Regions from separate parts of the Homo sapiens genome. Here region 1 is linked to region 2. Evidence: promoter capture Hi-C in 16 types of primary human blood cells and fetal thymus (Javierre and others, 2016). All regions are on one chromosome and are shown on one strand. The core of a region is centred on a gene start or on the middle of the fragment in contact, and the rest is flanking DNA. Distances in the headings are between cores, read along the strand shown.

What was found. Contacts are between HindIII fragments. The CHiCAGO score rates a contact against its expected background, and 5 or more counts as called.
Region 1: the fragment with the promoter of ARHGAP19 here is called in contact with the fragment with the promoter of R3HCC1L in region 2 in 2 of 17 cell types (fetal thymus and activated CD4 T cells); the score reaches 7.1 in fetal thymus.

The regions. Positions count from the first base shown.
Region 1 is chr10:97,291,062-97,293,979 of GRCh38, forward strand. ARHGAP19 (Rho GTPase activating protein 19) reads right to left here and starts at 1,576. Exons shown (of 12, transcript NM_032900.6): 1 at 1,511-1,576. The coding sequence starts at 1,566. It overlaps ARHGAP19-SLIT1 (ARHGAP19-SLIT1 readthrough (NMD candidate)), which reads right to left and starts at 1,612. Exons shown (of 15, transcript NR_037909.1): 1 at 1,511-1,612. RefSeq lists enhancers at 388-1,146, 1,147-1,903 and a silencer at 1,248-1,297. The HindIII fragment of the contact is 8,887 bases long and covers 1-2,918 here.
Region 2 is chr10:98,133,013-98,135,978 of GRCh38, forward strand. It overlaps R3HCC1L (R3H domain and coiled-coil containing 1 like), which reads left to right and starts at 1,645. Exons shown (of 10, transcript NM_001351015.2): 1 at 1,645-1,694. RefSeq lists enhancers at 2,072-2,861, 2,204-2,343. The HindIII fragment of the contact is 1,235 bases long and covers 1,225-2,459 here.

The DNA.
Region 1 (2,918 bases), core at 326-2,825, 840 kb before region 2:
GAGCTCACTAAAATGCTAATTAGGCAAAAACAGGAGGTAAAGAAATAGCCAATCATCTCTTGCCTGAGAGCACAGCGGGAGGGACAAGGATCAGGATATAAACCCAGGCATTAGAGCCAGCAACGGCCACCCACTTTGGGTCCCCTCCCTTTGTGTGGGAGCTGTGTTTTCACTCTATTTCACTCTATGAAATCTTGCAACTGCAAAACAAAAACAAAACAAAACAAAAAAGAGTGGAAAACTCTTCCATATCATATTTTATTTTATTTATTTATTTGAGACATAGTCTTGCTCTGTCACCCAGGGTGGAATGCAATGGCGCATCTGGGCTCACTGCAACCTCCGCCTCAACCTCCTGAGTAGCTGGGACTACAGGCGCCCGCCACCACACCCGGCTAATTATTGTATTTTTAGTAGAGACGGGCTTTCATCATGTTCGCCAGGCTGGTCTCGAACTCCTGATCTCAGGTGATCCGCTCCCCTCGGCTTCCCAAAGTGCTGGGATTACAGGCGTAAGCCACCATGCCCGGCCCCGTATGATATTTTAAATAACACACTCAACCACGCTCATCTGGGCTCAGGAAGAAGCCGAGTCACAAAGTTATTAGTTTCCCAAGATTCTTGGAATCTCTTATTCGGTACAAATGGAACCAAAAGACGCCAAACCGAAGTATTTTACTGAGTTACACTGAGGCAACGTAAATAAACTCAATCTATTGAATTACACCAAAAACAAAATTGTAATCAATTAAGACAACTTAGGTCTCAAGGCTAAGGCAACACCACCTCGAAATTCTCTCCTGAAAACGCTAAATCTCGGTGTGGCTGTTTAGGAAAGAACATCCTGTGGAAATAAAGTCATGATGTCCTGGACTACAGATCCCTCTCCCATCTGCTCCTTAGCTGTTCTACTAGGAAGAAGAAAATCTATTGCGTAGAGTTGTCATTATCGGCTAAACTCAGTGCTAGCTTTAAATGGATTGTCTTATTCAATCTTGACACTTGGAAATAGGCATCCTCACGTCCCTTTGCAGATGAAGAAACTGAAGTCGAGAGAGGTTTAAAAACTGGCCCAAGGACTCAACACTGTTTCTAATTGACACTCAAATCCTTGCTCGGACCTGAACGCACAAAGTGCCTCGGAGAAGATGTGAAGCGCTGTGTGCAACAGTGAGGAATTCGCTAACCAGCCCTGGACTTCCGTTTCCTCGCCATCAAGAGGTGTCTCGGCGCCAAAGCGATCAGCGCTGCCACCCCCAGCTGGACGTCTGCAGCCAGCGCAGCGGGAGGAGCCCCCTCGGGCACCGGCAGGACCGAGCGGGGGGTTTGGCTGGAGTCCAGCGCCCAGGCCCGACCCCCGCGCCTCAGCCCCCGCAGGCGCGACGATGAGAAACGCCGTGGGAGAAAGAAACAAAGCCCGAACCGTGCGCCTCCGTGACCCAAGGCAAAGGCGGCAGGACTACCAGCCCAAGGCCGCGTTTCCCAGGAAACTGGACCAAACTCAGCTCACCTCCGGCCGGATTCGCGGGCTGGCACCTCCCCTTCACTCTGTGCCTCAGTCGCCATCTTCGTCAGCAAACTTCTTTCACCGCCCCACCTTACGTCCCGCCCCCACATATTTGGATTGGCTAATATGTTTTCACCTCTTCCGTGCGATTGGATGACTCGACCGCCCCTCCTCAACCTGAACCGTTTAATATATTATTGGTCTATTCAAATGACTAACCGTCATTGGTCGTTCCCAGCCCTGGCGGAAAAAGAGGGAGGGGCGGGGAAGAAGACCCAGCCCCGAGGCCTGCCGGGAGTTGTAGTTTCTCATTTTGATGAACCCTTCCGATTCCACAGACCTTTAGGTTCAAGTCAGAAATCACCAGCCTATGCTCAAATTTTGTCCTGATATGTAAATCAGGGAATTATAGAACTGTCAACTTTGAAAGTGACTCATCACTTTCTAAAATGCAAGACTCCGTACCCTATATCTCAGCATCACACAATATACCCAGATAACAAACCAACTCATGTACCCCCTAAATTTAAAATAAAAGTTGAAAATAAATAATTTTTTTTTACAATTTTTTTAATTTTTTTTTTCTGTTGAGACAGGGTTTCACCATGTTGCCCAGGCTGGTCTCGAACCCCTGAGCTCAAGCAATCCTCCTATGTCAGCCTCCCAAAGTGCTGGGATTACAGGCATGAGGCACTGCACCCAGCCATAAATTAATTCATTTAATTTAATGTAATTTAATGCAAGACTCGTTCTCTGTCTTGACCCAGAGATAAATCCCTCAAGTGCAGGCAGGGAGTGGCAACCTAGAAGTACTTGCTTTTAAACGTATAGTTCAAAGCCTTCTTTCTTCAGATACTCAGCATAGCCCTAGCCATAGGTCATTTCTTTCTTCCTTTATTTCTTTCTTTTTTTTTTTTTTTTGAGATAAGGTCTCCCTCTGTCTCCCATGCTGGAGCACAGTACAATATTGCAGCATACCAACACACAGGGCAAATTTTTGTACTTTTTGTAGAGATGGGGTTTCACCCTGTTGGCCAGGCTGGAGTCGGTCATTTCTGCTTCAATACATTCACTCCCTTCCAACTTCCCAGAGAACCCACAGAGTTTGCCTTGTGATATGAACCATGGAACCAAAAGCTGCATGACTTTGTCCCAAACTAAACTTTAATCCTCAATGGTAGGAATAACCATAATTATCCTTGTCCTCCCTGCGGCACACACTTCTCCTAGGGATTAACTGAGGCAACATATGTGAGAACATTGTAAATTTTGAGCATTGTTGTTTTTTGTTTTTCCATATTGTTTTCCTATGCTGGACTTTTCTCGGGAATTTCTGTATTGATCCTTCTGATATCCTGCCACCTGGGGCTCTCCCTGCACTCTGCCTCCTTTTTACTAAACTGTACTGCAC
Region 2 (2,966 bases), core at 395-2,894:
TCATGAGTTAGGAGTCCTGAAGAAGGAACAGATTCAAGGAGTACTTGGGAGATAGTGAGAGAAGAAAGAGACCCTCTCATATTGTTTTATATTGTTTTATACTCAGTACCTGTTTTAAGAAAAAAAACAAGGAAGTGAAACCAAAGGCAGGCAGCCCAGCACCAGGCACCAGACCCAAAACCAGACCTGAAACCAGGCCTGGGCCTGCCTGGCCTAAACCTAGTAGTTAAAAATCAACTCATGACTTAGCATAGATTCCAGGCATTGTATGGAAGAACATTGTACTCTGTTCTGTTTCACTCTGACTACCACTGCATGAAGCCCCTGTCACATACACCCCAGATTGCTCAATCAATCACGACCCTTTCATGTGAAATCTTTAGTGTGGTGAGCCCTTAAAAGGGACAGAAATTGTGCACTCGGGGAGCTTGGATTTTAGGACAGTAGCTTGCCGATGCTCCCAGCTGAATAAAGCCCTTCGTTCTACAACTTGGTGTCTGAGAGGTTTTGTCTGCGGCTCGTCCTGCTACAATAGAATCTCCAAGATTTGGTGACCATTTGAATATTGGAGGAAGAGGAAGTGAGAAAGGAGGAATCAGGTTAAAGAGTGAATATTAATGAGTAGGGAGGAGGGGTAGTAGTTTACTTTTCTTTTTTTGGGGGACGGAGTCTCCCTGTGTTGCCCAGGCTGGAGTGCAGTGGTGCAATTTTGGCTTACTGCAACCTCCGCCTCCCGGGTTCAAGCGATTCTCCTTCAAGCAATTCTCCTGCCTCGGCCTCCTGGGTAGCTGGGATTACAGGTGCCCACCACCACGCACAGCTAATTTCTGTACTTTTAGTAGAGACAGGGTTTCACCATGTTGGTCAGGCTGGTCTCGAACTCCTGACCGCAGGTGATCCACCTGCCTTGGCCTCCCAAAGTGCTGGGATTACAGGCATGAGCCACTGTTCCTGGCCCCAGTAGTTCACTTTTCAAGGACACTGGAGATGCCTGTGGGCATGGATGAGGAGAGGTCTTGTCTAGGAAGTTGGGAATACAAACAATGAGCTCAGGTGAGAAGGGACTGGAGTGTCCCCTCTCCCACCCCAATTTTAAGAACTCTGGAAAACACCAATATTTTAGAGGTAAGTTAGAGGAAACAAAGTAGAATGAATTCAGAGAAGGAAAACCTGGATAGTGTCATAGAAAATAAGTGATAATGCCCAATAGCGTCAAATGACTAAAGCTTGAGTTAGATGAGTCCGGAAATACCTCCAATGAGTTTGGCAACAAGGACACTTATGACAACAAGGCATTTTCCATGGGGGCGGAAGCTGCGATGAGGAGTGAACACAGATGAGCAAGTAGAGACAGTGTAGATTATCTTTTTCAAAAAACTTGGCTGTGAACGGAGGAAGTGAGATGGTATAATTGAGTGGAATGTAAGGAGATTTGCGCACGTATATAGCCGAGAGGAATGAGGAAGGGTTGAAGGGACAGGAGCAGAAATGCTCTCCGGCACTCGCCATTTTGCCAGCTTCTCCCCTACGTGACCTGAACTCAGTGGGCGCGGCCGGGCCTCGCGGAAACTACAACCCCCAGAAGGCCCCACGGCGTTGGGGGCGGAGCCGAGGCCTGACGCGCGCCCCAGCGGCGCGAGCGGAAGAGATAGAGCTTCGCGGAGACGGCGGAAGCGGAGAGCAACAGCGCGCCGGTAACAACCAGCCCCGTATCCCCTCCCTCTGTACCTCAAGCTAGGATTTTTAATCCCCACTTCTCCCTTCACAGCCCGGGACAAGACTTCCATTCCGTCGTTTGTTGCTGGTATTTTTTTTCCTCATGTGACGCGAGGGGCCGCCCCCTGCCTGGGGCGGAGGTTACTGGGAAGCTCCCGCCTTCTGACCCCTGCGGGCCCGCGGTTGAGAGGGACCCTCCCGGGGCTCTTTTGCACTCACTGGGGCTCGTGCTCGCTTTGGGCGCTCGCCCCAAATGATCCTGGCGGAAAGGACGTGCTTTTTCTGGGTTTCAACAGGTATTGAGCGGGGTCCCTGGTTACCCCCTCGGGGCTGCGGGGCCGTGGGCCCCCAGGGCTGCCGGCGGTTTCCGGGCTTCGCTTCGAGCCTCGCCTTTGAGCCTCCTCCGCTGCCCGGGAGCCCCGGGCTACGGGCTGGGAGTGAGCAATCTATAAAGGAGCATGTACTTCCTGCTTTTTCTTGGCAGGCCTGCGAAAAACCCCAAGTCCGATCTTTAAAGTTTGTGAGTGCAGCCCCCTCTCAGTTGTGTACGGGAAGGAGCACAGGATTTGGAGTCTGATATCCTGGGGGAAGTCTCAGTCCGCCACTTGGCTGGACCTGTGATCTTTTGTACAGTAGTCTGTTTAGCGCAGCCTCGGTTTCGTTGTCTGAAAAGTGGGGTTAATGTTCTTTGCCCTGCGGCCTTCCAGGGTTGTGGGCTTCAGCAGAAGTGATATTCCTGCGAAAGCTTTGAACTCTAAAGTATGTTTCGGGTATAACCTTGCCATCCCCCAGTCTCCAGTCTAGGTCAGTTGAGTTTTAAAACCAGGTTCATGTCTATACGAAGATCAAATTAGTTAATAAATAGGGGGAAAGTGTCTTTGGAAACGAATCTGAACCATACAGATGTTTTTATGCCAGGTTCCTAGTGAAGAGGTGACCTTAGGGCGTTACCACCTGTGGAGTCAATTTAAAACTTCATCTGGATTTTAAGGCCCACCAGAATTTAGACTCTTCTTCCTCAGCACACACAACTATCTCTTGCTGTTATAACCTTCCTTCAGTATCACACAGGTACAAGCATAAAGCAGTAAACGTTCCTCAGATATGGTTGTACTACAACTAATACCTGTCCCCAGCAGGTCTTGTGTCTTGTGTCACAGTTGAAATTCAGAATATAAATAGCCAAATATCCCATCTGTTTAATTTTTTTTGACATTAAGCTTTGAGACTAAGCAAGTTGCTTATTGTCT